Linked DNA regions of Homo sapiens: region 2 is linked to region 1. The links are contacts of gene promoters, found by promoter capture Hi-C in human tissues and cell types (Jung and others, 2019). All regions are on one chromosome and are shown on one strand. The core of a region is centred on a gene start or on the middle of the fragment in contact, and the rest is flanking DNA. Distances in the headings are between cores, read along the strand shown. Region 1 holds the start of MFAP2 (microfibril associated protein 2). Region 2 overlaps CROCC (ciliary rootlet coiled-coil, rootletin).

Region 1 (6,756 bases), core at 1,429-3,928:
GACCTCAGCCAGTGCTCGGGAGGAAGAAACGCCTCAGTGTGGGAGGGAGAGGGGTTTGGGAGAAAACCCCCAAAGGCCAGTGGCTGGAGGAGGAAGAGGAGGCAGAGCCAGGCTGCCATAAAGGGCCGGGGCCCTGGAAGCCACAGGGAAGTTGAGCCTCTAACCTGAGTGAAAGGCGATCAGTAGAAGGGGCACGATCTGCGGGGGTGAGGGAGGCAGGACCCACGTGGGAGAGCCCAGAGTGGAGGCTATCGCAGAGCCCAGGCAAATGATGGTGGTGTCAACTAAATAAGAAATCAGCCTTTTGACCAGGTGCAGTGGCTCACGCCTGTAATTCCAGCACTTTGGGAGGCCAAGGTGGGTGGATCAGCTGAGGTCAGGAGTACGAGACGAGCCTGGACAACATGGAGAAGCCTCGTCTCTACGAGAAATAAAAAAAAAAAAAAAAATAGCCAGGCATGGTGGTGGGTGCCTGTAGTCCCCACTACTCTGGAGGCTGAGGCATGAGAATCGCTTGAACCCAGGAGGCAGAGGTTGCAGTGAGTTGAGGATGCACCACTGCACTCCAGCCTGGGAGATAGCAAGACCCTGTCTCAAAAAAAAAGAAAAAGAAAAAATCCACCTTTTGGCCAGGCACAGTGGCTCATGCCTATAATCCCAGCACTTTGGGAACCCAAGGCAGGCGGATCAGCTAAGGTCAGGAGCCTGGCCAACATGGTGAAACCCTGTCTCTACTCAAAAAAAAAAAGCAAAAATTAGCCTGGCATGCTGGCATGTGCCTGTAATCCCAGCTACCCGAGAGGCTGGGTTGGGAGAACCTCTTGAACCCGGGAGGTGGAGGTTACAGGGAGCCGAGGTCACACCACTGCACTCCAGCCTGGGCAACAGAGTTAAACTCCATTTCAAAAAAAAAAAAAAAATCAGCCATTGAAAAAATTAAAGTTAGTTTTATTGAGTCTTACTGAGGACTGCACCCTGGGAGAGGGTTTCAGAGAGTTTCTGTTAGACTGCGCCAAAGCAGCATTTCAGCCCACAGTTTAGATACAGAGGCAGGCGGTTCTGTGTGTGCTCAGAAGCTATGGTCAGGCACGGTGGCTCACGTCCGTAATCCCAGCACTTTTGGAGGCTGAGGCGGGTGGATTGCTTGAGCTCAGGAGTTTGAGACCAGACTGGGCAAACACGGCAAAACCCCTTCTCTACAAAAAATACAAAAAAAAAAAAAAAAAAAAAAAATTAGCCAGGCATGGCGGCTCTTGCCTGTAGTCCCAGCTACTTGGGAGGCTGAGGTGGAAGGATCACTTGAGCCCAAGAGGTGAGCTGTGATGGTGCCACTGCACTCCAGCCTGGATGACAGAGCGAGACCCGGTCTCATTAAAAAAAGAAGAAGAAAAATTTACATCAAATGTCTTCAGAAGCTACACTAGTGCAAATCTCGCCAAGGTTTGGGTTCGAGGATGCACCTAGTTATATAGATTATAGAGGCATAATCGTCAATCCTGTCAGGTGCTATCTTATGTACAGGAAAAGGCACAGCCAGGATCATTTAACTTATATTTTCTAACAATGCAGTGATTCAGGCAAGAGGCGTGGGAGCCTGTGTTCTGCCCTGCCTGCCATCTTCAAGGCATCCTTCCGTTGGGCTGCCCCCAGTCACTGAGTCAGGGCTTTGTCAGCTTCTGACAAGCAGAAAGAGCAAATGCGGTTTCTTGGGATTGCAACTTGGTCTCACAGTGGCTTAGGCCAGGGTGGGAGCAGTGAACGGAGTCACAAAAGAAATTTTTCAGGTAGCATTCACGGGTGGGTGCTGGATTAGATGCAGGGCTAAGGGCAGGGGAGGAAGCCTGGGTAATGGAAGGCTGCGGGGCCAAGGGGGGACTGGGAATCCTGGAGGGCCAGGTCTGGGGGAGAGTTAGGAGGTCGTGAATTTGGACTTGGATGCTTGTTGAAGCTGATGCATCTTGAGGACATTTGTGGGACACATAGGCTGGGTCAGGGCTGAAAGAGGTGCTGGTTATGGCCGGGGGCAGGGACTCATGCCTGTAATCCCAACAGCCCAGGAGGATGAGACAGGAGGAATGCTTGAGGCCAAAATTTCGAGGCCGGAAGTTCCAGACGAGCCTGGGCAACACAGCAAGACCCTGTCTCTAGAAAAGGAAAGAAAGAACCGCTGGTTGTGGAAGCCAGCCATGGCCCAGAGCTCAGCAGTGTAGGAGAGGAGGGTGCGGGCCTGAGAGAGGCAGCAGGCTTGGCTGGAGAGGCAGAAGGAAAACCAAGGCAGGAGAGTGTCCTGGAAGCTGGGAGAAGGCAGAGGGAGATCGAGGCTTACTTTCTGGCTGAGGGGCCTAGGGTGAGTCACTTTGGGAGGCTTGATTTCCTCCTCTGTGAAATGGGCAACACACCTACCCTTGCCCACCTCACCCCCCTCACCCCGTCGACGTCGAGTGAGGAGCAGCTGTGAGGAGGAGGAAGCTTTGCACAGACGTGAGGACGGCCCCGGGCGCCTCTACCCCGGGGACACCCCCCCCCCCAGGAGATGGAACCCCGAGGGCACGGCGTGGCGGCCCATGCGGGCAGCTCGCGTTAGGACCCAGCGGCTCCGGGGCTGGAGGGCGGGCGCCAGCCCCGTCGGGGGCCCGGAGGGGGACTCGGAGCGGGCCAAGGGGCGGCTCCGGCGGGCGGACTCGGAGCGGGCGGCGGAGTGACCCGGACAGGTAGGCGCGGGCCTGGCGCTTGGGGGCCCCGGGGGGCGGTCAGGGGCGTCGGCGGGTCCCCCGGCGCGGGGGCGAGGGTGCCAGGCTCTCTGGGTCCTCGATCCTGGGGCAGCCGCGGAGGTTCCTGAACCCCGCGCCTTCAGAGCGGAGGCCAAGGGGGCACCTGGAAAGTTTGGGGTTGCTCTGCAGAGAGAACGCGAATTGGGAAGGGCGGGGAGCCCGAGTTTGGGGGGAGCCAGAGGTGAGGTCGTCGGGGGATGGGACATCTTTTGTTCTCCCGGGGAGGTTGGAATGTGGCGGGTGGGGTGGGGGGGGGGGGTCCGGTGGGAATGGCCGAGACAGAGACGCAGAGAGACAAAGAGAGATCAGAGACGGGAGCGCGAGGGCGCGCGGAGCAAGTTTCCGCGGCTGATTGTTCCCAGCTGTGCGGCGCTGCAACATCTGGGTTTCTCCCGCCGGGACCCCTCCCCCTGAGCCCGGCTCTGGAGCCGGCAGAGCCCTCCCTCCGTCTGATGTCTGAGCGAGCGTCGGGGCCCCCTGTCCCCCACCTCCCAGGACGCAGGGGAGTCGGGGGTGGGGGAGGCCGCAGCTGTGGAAGAGGCCAGAGGTGGGGGTGGGGCAGCCTCCCAGGCAGGTCCTGGCCTCCCGCACGCCCCAAAACCCCTTCGTCTAGAAGAGCTCGGAGATGTGGTCCCGTGGGAGGAGTTCATGAACTCCACACTGACTTCTCTCTTTCCTGCCTCCCCGCTAGCCCGTGGGCCTCCTTCCCCCAATAAGCCTGGGTTCGGGGGCCAGTCCTAGGGGAGGAAGACTCCCCGCAGGGTACCGACAGGCATCCCCCAACACCTTGCAACCCCTCTTGCCCCAATTCAGCGCCTTCTGCTGAGCAGCGGGGGCTCCGACCGACCTGACGGATGGGGAGAAGGGCAAGGAAGGCTCTCTGGGTCTTTTCATCCCCCTCCCATGAGGAGGTCAAGGGTTTTCAGAATGGGGTGTGGGGAGCCAGCTATCCCTCGCCTCTGGGGCAGCTTGGTCCTGAGCTTCGTCTCCCGGCTCCCACTCCACCTTAGTGAGGTGCCTAATGCATGAGAGGAGCCAGGGGGTCAGGAGGCCTCAGGATTGAGAGGAAGGAGGGAAAGACCTCCTGCTTTCTCCCCTTTCCCTCCCCTCTCCCTGGACTCCCAGTGGGGAAAATAGACCAAAGTTGGGGTTTCCAGCTAGCTCTCTGAAAGGACTTCCTGGGTTGCAGCCGGGAGGGGCCCTCCTGGATGGACCCCGCCCTCGCAGCCCTCCCTACAGAAGGCTGACGGACCTGAGGTGGCCCTCCACTGAGCTGGGGCTGGATGTGGGGAACCGGAGGCTCCCCCAAGTCCCACCGTGTAGCCAGGACTGGAGGCTGGGCTCTTGAATGTCAGGAGCCTGATGAAAGCCACGGACCCCATGCCCTCTCCCTCCAAATGACACACACACTTGCCTACAGTGTCAGGGGGTGCAGAACCCCCAGCCTGGGTGATGTCACGGCCCCTTCAGTGCTGCCTTTCTGGGATCCAGAGGAGCCCCCTCAGGCTTCACTCTCGTGCTTCCTGCTGCTGCAAATAGCCCGGGTCTCGTGAGCCTGTGATGCACACAGCCAGGTCTTGCGAGGCCTGGAGGCCTGGCAGGAGAGGAGTCTTCTGGGAGCTGGGAGCCCTGCCCGGCCTGGCCGCTCTGGGGGCCGGGCAGGCCCATGTGTATGTGGTTTCCTGCTGAGCAGGATGCTTAGGGCCCAGGGGCTAATTGGGAGCAGGTGGTGGCTTGGCAGAAGCTGCTGAGTCCAGGCGGTGATGCCGGCTGGCCAGGGCTGGGGTCCCAAGGATGGGCCTGGGTTCAGTGATTCACGCAGTCAGTGCCTTGGACACCCAGGGAGCCACTGGGCCAGAGGGCTGAGCACGGGTGTGGGTGAGGACAGAATGGCCTGGGCTGGGAGCACATTAGGAATGTCCCCTTAGTGAGCAGGGCAGGGTCCGCCCTTCCCTGACCACATCAAGTACACCCACTACACGGGGTTTGCTTGTCAGGATCAGCCCTGGAGCTGGGTTGGAGGCCTTGTCCCTTGTGACCTGAACACCTGGGTGGGCCAGCAGGGACTGGGATGTCCCTCCACTCCAGCCCTCCCATGCCTGGCTTCTATTCTGGGTGCCACCTTCTCCAGGGCGAAATCAGGGGATCAAAGGTGAGCTCTGCTGTCCTGGGTGTGGCCCTGGGTAGAGCTCTCCCACCGGTCTTTCCCCAGCTGTCCTCTCTGACACCACCCCGGCCTGCCTCTTTGTTGCCATGAGAGCTGCCTACCTCTTCCTGCTATTCCTGCCTGGTAAGTGGCTCCTGGGGCAGGGGGTAGCTCCTCTTATGTGGGGCTGAGGAGTAGGGTTAGTAGGGGGAATTCATAGTGAGCCTTTGTCACGACTTATGACCAGAACTCAGCTCCCCAGCTCCCAGGGCCTTCTGCCTGCTTGGACCACAGACTGGACCAGCCAACCCTGGCAGCATCTGGAGGCAGCTCCTGGCCCTTCCCCCAGCCTTCCACAGCAGCAGGCAGGCAGGGTTCTGGAGGGCACGTCCCAGGCACAAGGACTCCGTGGGCACAAGGCACAAGGCCTCTCTGGGAGCCGATGTGCAGGTGCAGGGGCACCCAAGGCAGGGAGTCCGGATGCTTGAGTTCTAGATCCATTCAGGGCCCTTCTGCTCTATACAGTCCTGACCTTGTGGGGGTCCCTACTGGCCAAATGAAGAGAATCAATGAGGACCACAAAAGTCCTAGCAGGGCCAACATTCATTCATTCAGCAGCGATGTGTTGAGTCCCTACCACGTGCCAAGTGCTGGGCTAGGCCCTGGGGATTCAGCGATGAACCAGGCAGACACATCGTTGCTCCTCATCATGCTGCCAGTCCAGGGAAGGGAGACAAATAGGAAACAAGCAGACATGAGAAACTCCAGCATGTGCTGAGTGCTGGACAGAAATCAGCAGGAGGGCTGGTGGGCTGGAGGTGGGGCGGCATCTTGGCACAGCTGAAATTCCAGGGAAGACCTGAAGGAGCTGAGCAGGCCTCACAGGCCCAGGGAGTGTCAGGTGCAAAGGCTCTGAGGGAGGCAGGAGCATGTGGAGTCCTAGGAGCAGCCAGGAGGCCAGCAACAGGAAGGGGCAGGGTAAGGTCAGGGAGGTGACCCATGACCAGGGTGGGGAAGGGTCTTTACCATCGAAGAAGAGTCTGGATCCTCTAGGAATCTGCTTGTGGGGTCCTAGGCTCTTATGGGCCTGACCTTGTGACCCCCGCCTCCACTCTCCAGAAGCGCCTCGGGCCCCCGTTGCCCCTCCCGATGGGGTACCCTACATGCTTTGCCTCCCCACAGCAGGCTTGCTGGCTCAGGGCCAGTATGACCTGGACCCGCTGCCGCCGTTCCCTGACCACGTCCAGTACACCCACTATAGCGACCAGATCGGTAAGGGCCTTGCCGGGTCACCGAGGCCTGGCTGCTCAGATGTGCCTGGCTCAGCCAGGGACCGCACTGGACACGCTGATGGGAACTCTGGGGGTTGGTCCCTGGCTCAGGAGGGAACTTGTTTGCCCCAGGGGCTGGGGGATTAGCCTTACTCCCACCAATTCCACTTTCATCTTTGTTTGCAGACAACCCAGACTACTATGATTATCAAGGTAACGGGCTAGGGGTAGGATAGGACGGGCCGGCAGCTGGGGTGGGGAGACCCCCTGGGAGGGGTAGAGGGAGCAGACCCCCTTATCCTCCCCTGGCTGCAGAGGTGACTCCTCGGCCCTCCGAGGAACAGTTCCAGTTCCAGTCCCAGCAGCAAGTCCAACAGGAAGTCATCCCAGCCCCAACCCCAGGTAGGCCCCAGACCCTGCTCCCACCCGTCTCAGCTCCTGCCTCACCCCTCCCCACCCTGTCAACCCTGGGAGTGGGGGTCTGCCAGGGCTGGGAGAGGTGACTCCCCTTGCCCTGAGGAGACCCCTCCCAGTGATGTCTGCCTACCTCTGTCTCCACACCAGAACC
Region 2 (5,828 bases), core at 438-2,937, 36 kb after region 1:
CACACACCACAGAGCTGTGCAAAAATAGCTCAAGCTGCAGGGCAGGGCCAGAGTTCAGAGGATCCCCTGAGTAGGGTCTAGGGATAGCACTGCTCAGAGCCCAGGCTGCAGCGGACAGCGCAGGCCCCCCTGCCAAGGACCCTCTGCGCTGTGGCCACAACTCTCAGACCCCAGGAGCTGAGTCTCAGGCACTGGATGACCCTGAGCTATAGGCATTGCCCCCAGGAGCATCCAGAAGAGCAGGGATACGGCCATAAAGAGAGGTCAGTCCACTTATGGCTGGGACCAGAGGTCCAGAGGTCTGTGGCCTGTGACAAAGATCAGCCTGTATCCAGAAGGAAGGGGTCAGTCTGTGACCAGGCTCAGAGGTCTGCCTGACACTGGGACCAGTCTGTGCCAGAGTGACAAGGCTTGGGGCTGGGGGTCAGAGGTAGGTTTGTGGTTGTGCAGCAGACAGGGACCCACCTTGGTCAGCGCCTCGGCCACCTCGGCCTTCTCGGCCTGCAGCATGTCCCGTTGCAGTGTGGCGCGGCTCAGCGCCTCCCTCACCTCCACCAGCTCCTTGGCCAGGACTGAGCGCTTCCCTTCCAGCTGCTCTAGTTGTCTATGGCTGTGGGACAAAGGGTGGGTGGGTGGCCCATGTCACTTTCCTGCCCCGAACCTCCTGTAGCCAGCGAGATGCTGGGCTGGGGACCAGGCCTGAGGCAGGAGTTTGGAGAGAAACAGCCTGAGCCACAGGGCAACCAAGCCCACTACCGCTTAGCTCCATGACCCTGGGCCTCCGTTTTCACATCTGCAAAATGAGGTAACACTTACCTCGTGACATTGTTTGTTTTTTTGAGACACAGTCTTGCTCTGTCACACAGGCTGGAGTACAGTGGTGCGATCCTGGCTGACTGCAACCTCTGCCTCCCAGGTTCAAGCAATTCTCCTGCCTCAGCCTCCCGAGTAGCTGGGATTACAGGTGCTCACCACCACGCCTGACTAATTTTTGTAGTTTTAGTAGAGACGGGATTTCTCCACGTTGGTCAGGCTGGTCTGGAACTCCTGACCTCAGGCGATCTGCCTGCCTTGGCCTCTCAAAGTGCTGGGATTACAGGCGTGAGCCACTGCGCCCGGCCTGTTTTAAGGATACAAACTTCACATGTGCTTAAAATAGTGCCTGACACATCTCCCCAAGGACCTTCAGAAACAAGAATAACATGCTCCACCACAGTCTACTAAACATCATCATCGATCACGTCCCTGAGAGGTAAGCAGCGCAGTGGTGAAGAGGTTAACTCTGAAGGCAGAATGTCTGGGTTCAAATCCTGGCTCTTCTGCTAACTGTGTGACCTGGGGCAAGTGACATGGCTTCTCTGTGCCTCAGTTTACCATCCACAAAATGGAGATAACCGCTTCTATGTCACAGAGTTATCATGGAGTTAAATGAGAGAACTGAATTGCTTAAAATGGTATCTGGCACTTAGTGAAATTAGTAAGGATATTATTATTCTTCTAACTAAATTTTTAAAATACTACTGCTAATATTACTACTGTTATTTTAATTATTCTTGTTATTATCATCCAAGTTCTACCTTTTAACTAGTTCTCTGACTCCAGGTAAGTGACTATACCTCCCTGAGCCCCAGTTTCCTGAAATGGGTCTGGTTAGAAAACCCGACATCGGAGGGGTCCAGACGGTAGGAGGCCCAGGACCCAGTGGGTGTCACCTAACCCCAGGGGGGCACTGTCAGGGGACCCGAGGCACATCTGAAGGGTCCTGGCAGGGTGGCGAGATGCTGCTCACCTGCGCTCAAGCTCCCGGCGCACCCGCGCGCCATCCTGCACTGCGTCCTCCTGCTCTTCCTCCAGCCGGTCCCGCTGGCGCCGCAGCTCCTCCTGGGCAGCCTGCAGCTTCTCCCGCTCCTGCCGCAGCTCCTCGGCCTGCTGCTGGGCCACCTGCAGGCTGTGGGCCAGGTTGCTCTTCTCCCTTCAGGACAAGGGGAGGGGGAGCAGAGGGGATGCTGGGGCTGCTCTCTGCAGGGAAGGTGGCTGGCTGCTCCTCTAGCCATGAGCTACATCCTCCAGTCTTCCAAGGCACCTGCCTCCAGGAAGCCTTCCCTGACCACCCTGTCCATGGCTGACTCATTTCACTCACACACTCCAGCAGAAGAACCTGGCTTTCCTTCTCTCCAGTCCGCCCACTTGGAGTGGATGGAGGTGCTGGTGTGATCTCCAAGCACCCTACCAGGTAGAAGAGGCCGAGCTAGGCTCCTGGGACACACGGCAATTGTGCCACCAGCTCTGCTAGGCCATGTGACCAGGAAATGTCCCCTATAACACCCCATGCCCCTCAATTCTGGGAAGCCTGATAGAGCTGAGTCTGCAGATCCCACAGCTTCCTGCTACACAGGCACATGGTGGCCACGGCAGGGGAGGGAGGAGAAGGGAACAACTGGGACCCCAAAGACTTGCCATGAGCTGCCACGTTCCCCACTGGCCATAGGTGCGAAAAAACTTCACAGCGTGATTTTGTTTTATTTTTTTTTTTTGAGACGGAGTCTCGCTCTGTCCCCCAGGCTGGAGTGCAGTAGCGCAATCTCCACTCACTGCAAGCTCCGCCTCCCGGGTTCACGCCATTCTCCTGCCTCAGCCTCCCAAGTAGCTGGGAATACAGGCGCCCGCCACCATGTCCGGGTAATTTGTTGTATTTTTAGTAGAGATGGGGGTTTCACTGTGTTAGCCAGGATGGTCTCAATCTTCTGACCTCATGACCTGCCCGCCTCGGCCTCCCAAAGTGCTGGGATTACAGGCATGAGCCAATGCGCCCAGTAATTTTTTTTTTTTTTTAGACGGCATCTCACTCTGTCGCCCAGGCTGGAGTGCAGTGCACGATCTCGGCTTGCTGCAACCTCCACCTCCAGAGTTCAAGCGATTCTCCTGCCTCAGCCTCCCAAGTAGCTGGGATTACAGCCATGTGCCACCACGGATGGCTAATTTTGTATTTTTAGTAGAGACAGGGTTTCTCCATGTTGGTCAGGCTGGTCTCGAACTCCCGACCTCAGGTGGTCCTCCTGCCTCGGCCTCCCAAAGTGCTGGGATTACAGGAGTGAGCCACTGTGCCCGGCCAATTTTTTTTTATTTTTAGTAGAGATGGGGTTTCGCCATGTTGGCCAGGCTGGTCTCAAACTCCTGACCTCAAGTGATCCACCCGCCTTGGCCTCCCAAAATACTGGGATTACAGGTGTGAGCCACCTCGCTCAGTCGACAATGTGCTGTTAAGTAAAAATAGCAGAATGCAAAATGGGATGTTTGCTGTGAACACAACTGCTTAAAAAGACCTTCTCCTTTCCAGGCATGGAAAGCTTGGGTTTACTCTCACATGGACCTGAATTCCAGTTCCCACCCTGCCACCCCCAGCCACACACGCTGTATGAGTCTGAGCCAGTCTCTCAAGCTTACAACAACAGAGTTCCGAATTGCATGAGTTTGACAGGAAGACTAAATCACAGAGTACATACAAAACACTCGGCCAAGAGCCTGGCACACAGTAGGTGTGCAGGAAACGTTTGCTATCTCACTGCCAGGCAACACAATGGGAAGGAAAACCAGTGCCCTAAATGAATTAGGATGGGCAGATGAGGCTGTGAGAAGGCGCTGTCTTTTTATTCCTATTTTTCAAACTTTTCATTAGATGGTTACATTTATGAAGAGAAAAACCAAACAACAAAATATCAAAAACAACCTGGCAGCTAAGAAGTGGATAATTTCTTGTCTTAAAAATCTTCAGGGTGCCTGGCGTGATGGCTCACACCTATAATCCCAGTACTTTGGGAGGCCGAGACGGGCTCAGGAGTTAGAGATCAGCCTGGGCAACATGGCGAAACCCTATCTCTACAAAAAACAGAAAAATTAGGCAGGCGTGGTGGTGTGTGCCTGTAGTTCCAGCTACTCAGGAGGCTGAGATGGAAGGATCACTTAAGCCTAGGAGGTGGAGGTTGCAGTGAAATGAGATCGCACCACTGCACTCCAGACTGGGTGACATAACAAGACCCTGTCTCAAATTAAGAGAAAAAAAAAATCTTCAAGGCTAGGCATGGTGGCTTATGCCTCTAATCCCAGCATTTTTGGAGGCCGAGGCAGGGGAATCACTTGAGGCCAGGAGTTTGAGACCATCCTGGGCAACACAGCAAGACCCCATCTCTAAAAAAAACTCCAAGAAATACAGTCCAAAATAGTGCTGGCAATAGAACTCGCTGAGATGACAGAAATGTTCTATGGCCATGTATGGTTGATGAGTGCTTGAAATGTGGCTAGGGCAACTAAAGAACTGAATTTTTTCTTTTTTTTTTTTTTTTGAGACGGAGTCTTGCTCTGTCGCTCAGGCTGGAGTGCAGTGGCGCCATCTCGGCTCGCTGCCAGCTCCGCCTCCCGGGTTCAGGCCATTCTCCTGCCTCAGTCTTCCAAGTAGCTGGGACTATAGGTGCCTGCCACCACGCCCAGCTAATTTACTTTTTGTATTTTTAGTAGAGACGGGGTTTCACTGTGTTAGCCAGGATGGTCTCAATCTCCTGACCTCATGATCCGCCCGCCTTGGCCTTCCAAAGTGCTGAGATTACAGGTGTGAGCCACCGGGCCCAGCATTATTATTATTATTTTTTTTTTGAGATGGAGTCTCGCTCTATCTCCCAGCCTGGAGTGCAGTGGCACGATCCTGGCTCATTGCAACCTCTGCCTCCGGGGTTCAAGTGATTCTCCCACCTCAGCCTCCTGAATAGCTGGGATTACAGGAGCATGCCACCATGCCTGGTTAATTTTTGTATTTTTAGTAGAAACAGGGTTTCACCATGTTGGCCAGCAAGCTGGGTGTGAGCCACCACACCCAGCCTGAATTTTCACTTTTTAAAAATTTTAATTAAATTTTAATAGAGCCAGGCACAGTGGCTTATGCCTGTAATCCCAGCAATTTGGGAGGCTGAGGTGGGAGGAGTGATTGAAGCTAGGAGTTCAAGACCAGCATGGGCAACATAGTGAGACCCCCATCTCTACAAAAAATTTAGAAATGTTGGCGGCTTGTCTACTATCCTCGAGGCTGAGATCAGAGTTGCCCAGGAACCCAGGGAGGTGAGGGCTCAGAGGGTGGTGAGGGCACAGAGGAAGGGAGTGGAAACCTAACTCTCAGGCTTCGGTCCCATATCCTTCCCCAGGCCAGGCCCAGGCCCCCAACTAGGGGCAGTTGGGAGGTAGAGGTGGGAGGATCGCTTGAGTCTGGGAGTTCCAGGTTACAGTGAGCTGTGATGGACCAATTGTGCCCCAGCCTGGGAAACAGAGCAAGAGTGTGACTCAAAACAAAGCAAAACAAAACAAAACAAAACAAAACTGAATACTAAAAAATAAATGTTGGCCGGGCGCGGTGGCTCATGCCTGTAATCCCAGCACTTTGGGAGATGGACGCGGGTAGAACATGAGGTCAGGAGTTCAAGATCAGCCTGGCCAAGATGGTGAAACCCCGTCTCTACTAAAAATACAAAAAAAATTAGCCGGGCGTGGTGGTGGGCACCTATAATCCCAGCTACTTCAGAGGCTGAGGTGAGAATTGCTTAAACCCGGGAGGAGGAGGATGCAATGAGCCAAGATCGCGCCACTGCACTCCAGCCTGGGCCACACAGTGAAACTCCGTCTCAAAAAAAAAAAAAAAATTAGCCCGGCATGGTGGCAGGGGCCTGTAGTCCCAGATACTCGGGAGGCTGAGGCAGGAGAATGGCGTGAACCCAGGAGGCGGCGCTTGCAGTGAGCCGAGATCGCGCCACTGCACTCCAGCCTGGGCGACAGGGCGAGACTCCATT

Evidence for each region. Contacts are between HindIII fragments. The study calls those that stand out against the background at their distance.
Region 2: a contact is called between a fragment that was not itself captured here and the fragment with the promoter of MFAP2 in region 1, in 1 of the 25 tissues and cell types used here (mesenchymal stem cells).

What each region holds. Positions count from the first base shown.
Region 1 is chr1:16,976,542-16,983,297 of GRCh38, reverse strand. MFAP2 (microfibril associated protein 2) reads left to right here and starts at 2,678. Exons shown (of 9, transcript NM_002403.4): 1 at 2,678-2,711; 2 at 4,984-5,061; 3 at 6,100-6,189; 4 at 6,375-6,401; 5 at 6,504-6,590; 6 at 6,753-6,756. The coding sequence starts at 5,025. It overlaps LOC105376806 (a long non-coding RNA gene), which reads right to left. Exons shown (of 2, transcript XR_947003.3): 1 at 6,736-6,756; 2 at 5,503-5,629. RefSeq lists enhancers at 3,397-3,902, 3,903-4,410, 4,411-4,916. The HindIII fragment of the contact is 9,522 bases long and covers 1-6,756 here.
Region 2 is chr1:16,940,244-16,946,071 of GRCh38, reverse strand. CROCC (ciliary rootlet coiled-coil, rootletin) reads right to left here. Exons shown (of 37, transcript NM_014675.5): 14 at 1,790-1,972; 15 at 466-610. Among named protein-coding and RNA genes, the nearest start is that of CROCC, 21 kb to the right of the region's middle. The HindIII fragment of the contact is 8,412 bases long and covers 1-5,828 here.